2 separate regions of the Homo sapiens genome follow, and region 1 is linked to region 2. The links are contacts of gene promoters, found by promoter capture Hi-C in human tissues and cell types (Jung and others, 2019). All regions are on one chromosome and are shown on one strand. Each heading gives the region's core, a stretch centred on a gene start or on the middle of the fragment in contact. The rest is flanking DNA. Distances are from core to core; before and after follow the strand shown. Region 1 overlaps TMEM120B (transmembrane protein 120B). Region 2 holds the start of MLXIP (MLX interacting protein).

The links. The method cuts DNA at HindIII sites, captures the fragments that hold promoters and counts their contacts. A contact is called where the count stands out against the background at its distance.
Region 1: a contact is called between a fragment that was not itself captured here and the fragment with the promoter of MLXIP in region 2, in 1 of the 25 tissues and cell types used here (spleen).

What each region holds. Positions count from the first base shown.
Region 1 is chr12:121,750,007-121,756,463 of GRCh38, forward strand. TMEM120B (transmembrane protein 120B) reads left to right here. Exons shown (of 12, transcript NM_001080825.2): 4 at 374-433; 5 at 2,122-2,217. Among named protein-coding and RNA genes, the nearest start is that of RHOF, 40 kb to the right of the region's middle. The HindIII fragment of the contact is 7,829 bases long and covers 218-6,457 here.
Region 2 is chr12:122,076,636-122,083,030 of GRCh38, forward strand. MLXIP (MLX interacting protein) reads left to right here and starts at 2,121. Exons shown (of 17, transcript NM_014938.6): 1 at 2,121-2,631. The coding sequence starts at 2,219. RefSeq lists enhancers at 347-396, 2,464-2,703, 4,571-4,620, 4,691-4,740, 6,348-6,395 and silencers at 1,664-1,943, 1,954-2,403. The HindIII fragment of the contact is 9,979 bases long and covers 1-4,091 here.

The DNA.
Region 1 (6,457 bases), core at 2,882-5,381, 320 kb before region 2:
ATGATAATAATAATAATAATGAAAAATAAAGAAAATTCTTTAAAAATTGACCTAGAGGTTGTACCTTTGCCTCCACCTCATTGGCTATGCTTAGTCACCTGCTCACATCTGGCTGCAAGGCAGGCTTAGAAATACGGTCTCTAGGGTAGCATGGAGGAGAAATCGACTCCTCACACTGTCCTGTCACAGGTTAATGTCCTTTGGTTAGTTGTCATTCTCACTCGATGTGGGGGCCCATTTGCCCGCTGAGCTTAGGCCCCCTATCTTCTAACATCAGTGCTTGGGATGTGCTCATTAAGTGTGTTGAGTTTGAATGTTGTTGATTCGCACCCACCTGCTAAGGATCATGCCCCTCACAGGTGTTTCCTTCCAGGCTCTACTTGAACCTGGTCCTCGGCAATGTGAACGTGACCCTCCTCAGCAACCAGGCCAAGTAAGTGTCCCCCACCCACCACCCAGACCCACACCTCACACCGCCCCCACACCCACACCCACACCCCAAACCCCACACTGAGAACCCACACCCCACATCCACACCCACACCAACACCCCACACCTCAAACCCACACCCACACTCCACACCAACACCCCACCCACACCAACACCAACACCAACACCACACCCACACCCCACACTGCGAACCCACACCCACACCCACACCCACACCCCACACCACACACTCAAAACCCACACCCCATGCCAACACCCCACCCACACCCTACACCCACACCCCATACTCACACCCCACACTCCACACTCACACTCCACACCTTACAGCCACACCTACACCCCACACCCCATACACAACACCCCACACCAACACCACACACCACACTCCACACCCCATACCCACACCCCACACCCACACCACACACCACACCCCACATCCCACACCCACACCCCACACCCCACACCCACACCTCACCCCACACCCCACACTAACACCCCACACCCACACCACACACCCCACACCCACACCCCACACCCCACACCCCATATTCACACCCCACACCCAACACCCACACCCCAAACTGACACCCACTCTCTACACCCATATCACACTCCACACTCACACCCCACACCTACACCCCACACCCACACCCCAAACCCAAACCCACACCCCACACCTTACACCCATACCTATACCCCAAACCCACACCCCACACCTAACACCCCATACCCCACACCCACACCTATACTCACACCCCACACCCAACACCCCACACCCCCATTCACACCCCACACCTAATACCCAACACCCCACACCCCACACCGACACCTATACCCACACCCCACACCCACACCCCATACCCCACACCCACACCACACACCCCACACCCACACCCCACCCCACACCCACACCCCACCCCACACCCCATATTCACATCCCACCCCACTCTCACCCCACACCCTATCCTACACCCCAACCCACACCCCGTCTCACGCTTTTCACCTGGCTCAGAGGCCTCCGGCATTCTGTTCCTTCAGCTCAGGGAAGTTGCATCTAAGCTAGAATTTTTGCATAAATAAAAACCTGGTCACAGGTGAGGCGCTGGCTTTTGGAGTTTCTGACACTCTCCTCCTCTGTAGGTAGAGCACCTGGGAGAGGGTTGGTTCCTTGGTTCCTTCCCTTCCTTCCCTCCCTCCCCTCCCTCCCCTCCCTCCCTTCCTCCAAGTCAGTATGTTGGGTGGACAGGACTTCCCATTTCGCACAAGAAATGGCCCTGCTCTGTTTCACGCCCTATCACACACATAGGGAGATGGGCAGTCCAGTCTACTCTGAGTCTACCCCATTTCCAGACAGCCGCAAACCCTGGCCTTTCAGCAGCAGCAGTTGGTTGAGGGAAGAGGCCCTGTCTCTGCCCCCTGCCTGTCCCCAGCATGGGCCCAGAGCCCCAGACCAGAGTCCAGGGACATGGGCCTTCTGCATACTTGGCCCTCTTCCCCTCATTGGTCACCACTAACCCGTCAAGGCCAGGTCTTTCCTTTAGTGGAATGGGAAGGTCCTTATGGGCCATGGCAGTGGCTGAAGGACAAGGGTCTGATGGGGCTGAGGGCCATGCCCAGGTGCTGGAATAGTCATGGTAAGGGGCACACCCCTGGGCGTGTCTGTCGTGGCAGGTTCGCCTACAAGGACGAATATGAGAAGTTCAAGCTCTACCTGACCATCATCCTGCTCCTGGGTGCCGTGGCATGTCGATTTGTCCTTCACTACAGGTAGTGGGTGTGGCCGTGTGTGCCTGGGCCTGGGCATGCAGACGTCAGGTGGGGGCCGGGAGAGAGGGATCCAGGGGACCCGGAGCCTCTCCTGCTTCTGTGTTGTTTGGCATGATGAGGTGTAGGGGAGAGAGGGGCCATTTCTCATGGGAAATGCCAGTCCTGTCTGCCCCACCTCCATCCAACAAGTATCTGTTAAACGGCTGCTGGAAAGGCCTTGTACTGTACTAGTTAAGAAGGAGTTCATTACCTGGCGCGGTGGCTCACGCCTGTAATCCCAGTACTTTGGGAGGCCGAGGCAGGCAGATCATTTGAGGTCAGGAGTTCAAGACCAGCCTGGCCAACATGGTGAAACCCTGTCTCTACTAAAAATGCAAAAATTAGCCAGGCATGGTGGAGTATGTCTTTAGTCCCAGCTACTCGGAAGGGTGAGACAGGAGAATCGCTTGAACCCAGGAGGCAGAGGTTGCAGTGAGTTGAGATCGCTGCACTCCAGCCTGGGTGACAGAGTCTTGCTCTGTCACCCCAAAAAAAAGGAGTTCACTGTGGTCTATCTGTACAGTGGCATATCATTCAGCTATGAAGAGAAATGAAAAGTTGGGCGTGGTGGCTCACACCTGTAATCCCAGTACAGTACTTTGGGAGGCAGGAGGACTACTCGAGGTCAGGAGTTTGAGCCTATCCTGGGTAACACAGCAAGACCCCCATCTCTACAAAGATAAAAAATAAAATTATTTAGCTGGGTGCAGTGGCTCACACCTGTAATCTCAGCACTTTGGGAGGCTGAGATGGGAGGACTGTTTGAGTCCAGGAGTTTGAGGCTGCAGTGAGCCATGATCACACCACTGCACTTTAGCCTTGGGGACAGAGGGAGACCTGGTCTGAACAAAAGGGAGAGAGAAATGAAGTACTGTCACCAGTACGGAGCCAGGCTGCAGCATGGATGAACCTTGAAAATGTGATGCTGAGTTAAAGAACCAGTCACAAAAAGATACACAGTAGGATTCCATTGCTGAGAACTGCCCAGAACAGGCAAATCTATAGAGACGGGGAGTAGGTGAGTGGTGGCCAGGGGCTGCGGGAGGCAGGAAGGAGGGCATGACTGCTACTGGGTACAAGGTTTTTTTTTAGAGTAATAAGAATGTTCTCCCAGCCTGGGCAACATGGTCAAACCCTGTCTCTACTGAAAATACAAAAATTAGCCAGGCGTGGTGGTGGGTGCCTGTAATCCCAGCTACCCAAGAGGTTGAGGCAGGAGAATCACTTGAACCTGGGAGGCAGAGGTTGCAATGAGCCAAGATTGTGCCACTGCACTCCAGCCTGGACAACAGAGCGAGACCTTGTCTCAAAAACAAACAAAAAAAAAAAGAATGTTCTGGAGTTAGGTAATGGTTGTACAACTCTGAATATACTAAAAATCACTAAATTATATACTTTAAAAGAACAAGTTTTATGGTATGTGAATTATATCCCAATTATATTTAAAAAAAAAAAGAGAAAAAGAGAAAAGAAAATGGTTTTGAGACCAACTGGCTGTTACTATGGGCAGGTTCCCTCTGGGAGCCTCAGTCTCCCCATCTGTAAAACAAGGGTGACGGCAGTCCCTGCCTCACAGGGCTGTGACAATTCAGGGAGCTGGCACCGTGTGTGGAAGCTCCACCCTGGCTGGCACGTGGAGGCGCTGCTGGGGGTGCTCCCCAGCTGCTGGTACCGTCCAAGTGCAGCACAGCCATGCCGTGAGGCTGTGGGCTGCTGCTGCCCTGCCTGGGCTGCTGTTCCTTTCTCTGGCCCTGGGTTCTCTGTCCCCAGGGGAAGCGGTCAAGTACGGTTTGGGCATTTGGCCTATGTGCCAAGCGTTTATTGCCTGGCAGGCACTTGGCTGGGCATCCGGCTGCTGGTCTGGCCACTTGAATGCCCAAACAAAGGCTCTTTCAGGCCCTGGGCCCGTGCTCGCCTGCTGCCCAGAGCCTGGCCTGTTTCCACGAGGGCAAAGGCTGCACACATCTGTACTACTCCTCATGTGCCTCCCTCAAAGAGGGTAAAAGTTGTCAATGTGCAGCCACAGTCCCTTGCACAGGGACCTCCAGGGCCCTCCGAAGGCAAACCCTTGCTGTCCTGAGGCCCAAGGTTCCCCGAGGGCCTGGGCGTCTCTTTTTCTCCTACCTGCTTCTGTGTTCATCTCCTAGGGCCACTGTAACTAAGTACCATAGACTGGGGGCTTAAAACGACAGACACATTTTCCCACAGTTCTGGAAGCCGGCGGTCTGAAAGCAGGGCGTGGCAGGGCCATGCCGCTCCACAGGCTTCGGGGAGGGAGGACCCTTCCTCGCCTCTCCAGCTTCTGGGAATTGCCAGCAAGCCCGTATTGCCTGGCTTAAAGCTGTGTTTCACTCGCCTCTGTCTCTGTCACCACGCCACACGGCCTCCTTCCCTAGTGTAAGGACACTAGACACTGGATTTAGAGCCCACCCTAACACAGTATGACCTCATTTGAACTAATTCCATCTACAAAGACCCTGTTTCCAAATAAGGTCACATTCTGAGGTCCCAGTGGACGTGAATTTTGGAAGGATGCTATTCAACCCAGTACACCTTCTATAGGCTAAAAACGGGGCAGAGGAGGGGGATTGGACGGGCCGTTCATCTCTGTGCCGGTGCCCCCGGGAAGCCTGCCCTGCTGTTTAACCTTAGGCAAATGACGAACCTCTCCCAGCCTCAGTTTCTTGACAGATACAGTGAGCGTGACAGGAGCTACTTGGCAGGGCAGCTTGGAGGGCAGGAGAAGCTGTGTCTGGAGACTGGTTAGACTGGTGCCTGTTTAAATATTAGCACCGGTTAGCATCACCGTTGTTTTGGGCTAAGACTGGGCATACGGGAAAAAGGCTCACAGCTTCATAGCTAGTGCGTCCACAGAGCAGGATTCTCTTTTCTTCCTCTTGCCCCTCTTGGGATGGTTTCCTGGCTAGGCTCCCCACCCGGAGGCCCTTCTTGGTACCACTAAGCCTGCAGCTGGGCATGGCCAGCATCCTCTAGGGTTCTGGGTCCAGCTCTGCCACTCACGGGCTTTGTGACCTGAAGTGGATCCCTGGGCCTCTCTGTCTGTCTCCTCACCTTTTCCACAGGCTCCAGGACATCTACTCCACCAGTACTCCTTGGGCGTTTGGAGGCTTTGGTGAGGCAGCAGGAGAGTTGGAAGCCTCCTTCTGCTGCCTTCAGGCCAAGAGGCTGTGCCTGGTTAGGACTGTCCTCTATCAGGTTTGAACCAGGCTAGGAAAGAGGTAGTCAGAGTTAATTTTGGCTCGAGTGGGCTTGGGTTTGGACCTCACTCCAGTGCTTGCCGTCTGTGTGATCTGTAAAATGGGAAGTGGTACTGTCTTAGTGTGGGTTGGCCCAGAAGAGACCCCCAAGACAAGCATTTTAGTGCCAGTAGTTTATTTAGGAGGTGATCCCAGGAGACACTGGTAGTGGAATGGGAAGTGAGGCAAGAAAGCATTATCCTGTGGGTAGTTGGAGCTCAATACTGCTAGGGAATGAGGGGACAGCGTAGAACATGCCTCAGAGTTATCCCACCTGAGGGTGAGGGAGCTGGGGTATTTATCCACCATTTGCTATCAGTTGGGGCAGTTGAGGACTGACCCCAGAGGGTGTTAATTGCTCCACCCTTCTGATCTGCACCTTGCACCAGCAGAGTAGATGCTGGTGGCTTGATAAAGCCCCCCAGGAACACCCAGAGTGGCGGGTTCTGGTAGTTGGAAGTCATGCCGACAGGGATGTGGTAAGTGCACCTGCTTTAGGAACCAGTTCTGTAGTGTCCAAGAATCCAGAGCGATCATCTATGCAAAATGCCTGCAAGGTTATAAGTTCCCAATAATTAGTCTCTGCCTAGTGCTGAATAATGATCCCCAAAGATGTTCATGTCCTGGTCTCCAGAGCCCGTGAATAAGTTACCTTACAGAAGGGACTCTGCAGATGTGATTAAGACTCTTGAGATGGGCCGGGTGTGGTGGTTCATGCCTGTAATCCCAGCACTTTGGAAGGCTGAGGTTGGAGGATCGCTTGAGCCCAGGAGTTCAAAACCAGCCTGGGCAACATGGCGAAACCCCCTCTCTACAAAAAATACAAAAATTAGTCGGGCCTGATGGCATGCATCTGTAATCCCAGCTACTCGGGAGGCCAAGGCAGGAGAATTACTTGAACAAAAGAGCAAAACTCTGTCTCTAGATGGAGTCTTGCTATGACC
Region 2 (6,395 bases), core at 871-3,370:
GCAGGGCACGGTGGTGTGCACCTGTGGTCCTGCTACTTGGGAAGTTGAGGTGGGAGGATCACCTGAGCCCTGGAGGTTGAGGGTGCTGTGAGCCATGATGGCACCACTCCACTCCAGTCCAGGTGAAAGAGCCAGATCCTGTCTCAAAAAAAAAAAAAAAAAAAAGTGGCTGGGCATGTAAACTTACCAAGGACCAAGGAGACAAGTCTTGAGAGAAAGGAAGGCAACTCAAAGGATGGACTTTTAAACACTTGTAACCAGCATTGGGAACAGTAGTAGGTTGAAGAGGGAAATCTAGAACTCATGCCTGAAAACTGCCAGTCATCCAGCCCATTTTTCCATACAGACATTTGGAAATAAGTTAATGGAGCCATTTTGGTGAGAGCCCTCTGTTCCCTTCAGGAGGCCTTTGTCAGGAAGAGGGTGGGGCAGGGGACTCACCCCCCACTCAAATCTGGAACTGAAACCAGCTTCAAAGCCGAGTGCAGAGCCAGCGCGGTGGCTCATGCCTGTCATCCCAGCACTTTGGGAGTCCAAGGCAGGCCTCACTTGAGGTCAGGAGTTCCAGACCGGCCTGGCCAACATGGTGATTGCACCACTGCGCTACAGCCTTGGGTGACAGAGCAAGACTCTGTCTCAAAAAACAAAACAACAATAAAACAAAGCAGAGTGCAGGAGTGGCTGTGGACTCTGGACGCCCTGCTAGGATTAGGATGGGTGTTCCTGGCTCATGGGCCTCACTGGCTCTTCTGATGCCCTGCCACCCCCACCCCAGACTGGCTTTGAGCCCCGGAAACCTTGACAGCTTTCTAGAGGTGTCTGTCAGTTAGGTTGTGCCACGCGAAGTTGCCGTTTCTGCAGGTCAAATAGTGGTGGACTATTGGCAATTTCTAGGCACCTCTGGTCTGGTTGATCCAAATCCTCCAACCTGTGGCACATTTATTTAGCGCTCATTTTGTGCCAGCCTGCCTGCTAAGCAACTTATAGCCATTTTTATTTGTATTTATTTTTCTTTTTGAGACAGGGCCTCGCTCTGTCGCCCAGGCTAGAGTGCAATGGCGCAATCTCGGCTCACTGCAACCTCCACCTCCCGGATTCAAGCGATTCTCCTGCCTCAGCCTCCCGAGTAGCTGGGATTACAGGGGTGCACCACTACGACCGGCTAATTTTTGTTATTTTTAGTAGAGACAGGGTTTCACCGTGTTGGCCTGGCTGGTCTTGAACTTCTGGCCTCAAGTGATCCACCCGCCTCGGCCTCCAAAAGTGCTAGGATTACAGGCATGAGCCACCGCGCCCCACTATAGCCATTTTTAAACTGTCCCAAGTTTCTGAGGAAACGGAATTGTTCACCATTTGACAGAGAAGAAAACTCTGGCTCAGATACTCCCCTTTTAGAATTGTTTCGGGGGCTGGCTCGTCCGTCAAACTTTAAAAAAATAACAACAGCATGCTGAGTTGAAGTTAAAAGAGCTGGGGTCTGGAGGTCGCTGGGCTCAGGGGCGCTGCCACTCAACAGCTGCGCCGAGCTGGGGACGCGCAGGGGAAGCAAGTTCCCAGCTCTGTGGACTCCAGGTCTGAGAAAAATCCTGTCGGTATTCAGCCACCCAGTGTTCCCATCAATACGATGAGAATAATGAGGACAATAGCCACCACGTCCGGCAAACTCAGGCGTGAGCTGCGAGGACTCGGTACCGCCCGGCAGGGAAAAAGCAGGGCCTGGAGGCCGAGGAGCCCCACCCGCACCCACCACGTGGAGCCGGCCGGGCCTGCGGCGAAGCCACAGGGCGACTCCCGGGGCGCGGAGCGGGGCGGGGGCGGGACTAGCACGGCCCCACTCTGCCGACGCCTCTCCCAGGTCGCGACACCGGCGAGCCGCTCCGCCCGGCCACCGTGTCCCTCAGCACCCACGGACGCCGGGAGAGGAGGAGGTGGCGAGGGGCACGGCCGGGAGGCGTGGCCTCCGCTTCCCCTTTTTTTTTTTTTTTGGTCCGCCTAGCTAAGGAAAGGTTCCCCTGCGCCTTTAAGAGGCCGACGCGGGCAGCCGATTGGCCCAGACGCCTCGGTGACGTCACGCCGGGGCCGGAGCCCTCCCCCTCCCGCCGCGCCGCGCGCTCGCGGACAGTCGGCGCGCGGGCCGGGCCGGGCCGGCGCCCCTCTGCCTCGCGCGCTTGTCGCGTTGCCCCGGGCTCCGGGGGATGCCCCCGGCCGAGCCCTTCTCATGGCCGCCGACGTCTTCATGTGCTCCCCGCGCCGGCCTCGCAGCCGGGGCCGCCAGGTGCTGCTCAAGCCCCAGGTGTCCGAGGACGACGACGACTCGGACACGGATGAGCCGTCCCCGCCGCCCGCCTCCGGCGCGGCCACCCCGGCCCGGGCCCACGCGAGCGCCGCGCCACCGCCGCCTCGGGCCGGGCCGGGCCGCGAGGAACCTCCGCGCCGCCAGCAGATCATCCACAGCGGCCACTTCATGGTGTCGTCGCCGCACCGAGAGCACCCGCCCAAGAAGGGCTACGATTTCGACACGGTCAACAAACAGACGTGCCAGACCTACAGCTTCGGCAAGACTAGCTCCTGCCACCTGTCCATCGACGCCTCGCTCACCAAGCTCTTCGAGTGCATGACTTTGGCCTACAGGTAGGGACCCCCGCGACCCCCTGAGGCCCCGGCCGGAGGCCCTTGTTTGACAAAACAAGCGTGGAGGGAAGGGCCGCCTGGCAACCCCGTGGCTTCATGCATTCCCTTTGGGTCTTCCTCCTTCGGGAGGGTTTATGGATCTGGGGTTCCCCGCGTTGCCAGAGGAGCCGGGGTCCTGGCCTCTTCCCCTGCCAGCAGTGCCGGGGTCCTTTCGGGTTCACGTTCCCCATCCAGGCCCTCCCCTCCAGTGTCCTGGGACCACCGATGTTGGACGAGGAAGAGGTATAAACACTGGCTGCATCTTGTGTTACCCGACTCTATCGACTCCTTCCTCCAAACGCTTTGTGTGTTTCCCCCATATCCAGCAGCGGTCAGGACCACCTGTTCGGGGTGACTGGAGGCTGGCTCTGCTGTTTAATGGTTGTGTAACACCTCGGAGCCTGTTTCCTCCTTTATAAAAGGGGAATGACTGTAGTGTCTGCCTCCAAGGGGCTGTTGTGGGGATGGAGTGAGATAGGTAAATTGCTTATTCCAGTGCTTGGCCAGAGTTAGGTGTCCCTGCACCTGGAGGCTGGCCCCCTTACAACCTCATCGGGAGGCCCGCCCCCATCTCGGGAGGGCTTTGGGTGCCTCCTAAGAAGACTTTTGGTGCCACAGCTGTTGGAGGTGCAGTCTGTCCTTCTGGCAAGTTGGAGGGTTTTCTGGCCGGTCCTGAAACATTATATGAGGGAGATGTCATTGTTGAGGGCAGACATCCCAGACACCGTTCTGACATGTGGATTCGGCTCTGGGCAGAGATTCCTCTTTTCCAAGTCACAGAAAATGCCTGGCCCTCAAAGATTAAAGCGCTTTTTCACTCTCTCTCCCTTTCCCACTATGAATATTAGGTATTTGCTGCAGGTAACTTTTTTGTCTGCGCAACAGAACTTCTTTGGACTGGCAGCAGCGGCCTTGAGCAGCTTGGCCCTGCAGAAAGCTCATGATGGGATCTCTGCTGAGTTAAGCTTATTGCATTAGGAACTGGACTAGCGGGGGCTGTCTTAGGTCTGCTCTGGAGGCATCGCGGGAGAAGTTTCCTAGGAGACTCCATAAACAGCGTAATAAAAGAGCAGGAATATCTTGCCCCCTCTCACCTCACCTTTTTAAGAGAGCTGTGAGCCCCAAGCATATCCAGGTTTAAATGTTATGCTTTTACCTGAAGTTAAAATATTAGATACTTAGCCCTGGATGGCACCCCCCTCACCGCCGCGGTCCCTGGAATAAACGATTAGTCAACTTGTTCTTTGTTATGTTCCTGAAACACCCCTATTTCCTCTCTTGAAGGTTTCCCTGATGATCTGTTCCCGTAGCTCCTCCTCCCATCCCCCTTACCCGGCACATTGGTCAGTCTCTGCTGATTCTCTGGTCTTGCCAGTTTGAGCTGGCACTGAGCCTGTAAAGATGTTCTGCTTTTTAAAAAACAAATGGTGTTGAGGCTGCAGCCCTGTGCGCCCTCCAGTCTCTGATTTTGAGCAGTTCCATTGGAATCAAACCCGACTGGATCGCAGCATATGCTATGCCTCGAGAGAGCCTTTTCAAACAAAGCTCGAGGTGAAAGACTGGAATGTATCTTATTAAGAAAACTTAATCCTCTTCTTTATTTTAATATAAACTTCTACATATACAGGGAGAGAATGGATGAGTCACGGGGGGCATGGACTGGAAAGGTCTCACCTAAGTAAGCTCTGCTAAATGAAAACTAAATCAGTCTCCCCTTTGCACTCTTGTTTGGATAACCTAAAGGCTTATTAAACAACACCAAATAATTTTAGTAATGGCATTTTTTTTTTCATTTCTCTCAAAAATATTTTGGCAGCTGGCCGTTGCTCAGTTAACTTTCTTGATTGCAAAATGCACCATCAGTTTGGTGCAAGAAGCTTATCTTGCTCTCTTGGCTCTCTCACTTTCGCTGCTTTTCCCTGTGCCTAAGGTCTCCTGCTGCCTAAGGTCGGCCACCTAAGGTCTACCACCACAGGCCCTCGGATGGGATCTGTCCAGTCATTTCTCATGAAGATGCCCTTTGTCTGTCTGTGTGAGGCTGGTTTGTCCAGTGCTGAGTTTAGTTGGCAGTGTAGAACTTTGGTATGGATGACAGACAAATGACTCAAAACCAGTTGTCTGGGCTGTAGTCTGTGGCACAGAAAGAAACTAGAGGAAGGTGAGTTTCTGACCCCAGCTCTCCTAGTGAGAACTGCTACCTGGCTTTCAGGGAAGGAAGGTTGAGATCGGAGGCAACGCGGGGCGTGGTGGCTCATGCCTGTAGTCCCAGCACTTTGGGAGGCCGAGGTGGGGGATTGCTTGAGCCCAGGAGTTCAAGATCAGCCTGGGCAATGTAGCAAGATCCCCATCTCTAAAAAAGAAAAAGAAAGAAAGAAAAAAAGGGATTGGGGGCAGGGCAGAAAGAAGACTTAACCTCAGAGCCTGTCTGGCTTCCATCCTGGTGGGGTTCATGCCTTCCCTGCCGGCTGTCTGGGTCCTCCCCTCCTGCCCGAGCTGAGAAAGGCCAGCTGGGTCTCCTCTTCTGTGTGACTGTTTCTGGCCTAGGTTCTTTCTAACTTCAACTTCCTGTCTGTCCTCTGGCCTCTTCGTTCTAGCTGTCTAACTCTCCGTGGTACACTCTGCTTTTTGTTGTTGTTGTTTGATTTCCTGTTAGCTGCTGCCTCCCAGCTGTTTCCAGATGAGGTTCAACAGCTCTCTGGGGAGGAACTAAGTGCAGGGGAAGTTGTGGTTATTTTTTACCGAGTCCTGAGAAGTGGCCTAGGGATTCTGACTGTGATCCATTCCTGAACTGGCAGGGCTTCACCTCCTGAAGGGTCTTTGCCCGGGGCTGACTTTGGGTGTGGAACAGGGTGTTTGAGGACTTGGATATGAGTGTGCCCAGGGCCTGCTGGGTAGGGAACCGTGCAGATGGGATTCCTTGTCCTTCTCACTCAGTTTTGCTGAGAAGCCCTGTGGCGAAGGGTCTTGATTTGGTCCAGAAACATGTGCTCAATTATTGGGACATTTTGGAGAGAAGGGGTTGCCTTTCCCCGAGGCAAACCAGGTGTTAATGATGGAAAAAATCCTTATTTTTCCTTAGACTTATCTGAAGTCTAAGAATGCTATTCAATGGGAAAGATAAAATTTCCCTGCAAGGTGGAAGTGAGGATCAGCAGAGATAACCTCTGGGAATGGAGCTGGGAATGGGGCTAGTGCCTGGCAAGTAACACACAAGAGGAGGGTTTAACGGGCTCCGCATAGCAAGTGGGTTATGGCAGAATTTTAGTTCTGCATCTGCATTCATCTGACATTTATGAGGAGCCCGTGTCTTATCTATGAACTGAAGGAAATAGTGTATCTAACCAGGGTCTTAGCTGAGCTTTCAAATGCCTGCTTGACAAATACTAAATAGAAGCATTCTTGATTTGGCCGGGTGCTTTCTGAGGCTCTACAATGGAGCTATGTACTGTAGAACATAGTTCATGGTTCTTGCCCTCTTGACACTGTAAGGAATGTCACACATGTATATCCTTCACACAGAATTTCCTTTTTTTGAGATAGGATCTCGCTCTGTTTCCCAGTCTGGAGGATAGTGATGTGATCACAGCTCACTGCAGCCTTGACCTCCCAGGCTCAAGCAGTCCTCTTGTCTCAGCCTCTTGAGTAGCTGGGACTGCGGGCACGCACTACTATGCCTGGCTAATTTTTTATTTTTTGTAGATATGGGGTGTTGCTATGCTTCTCAG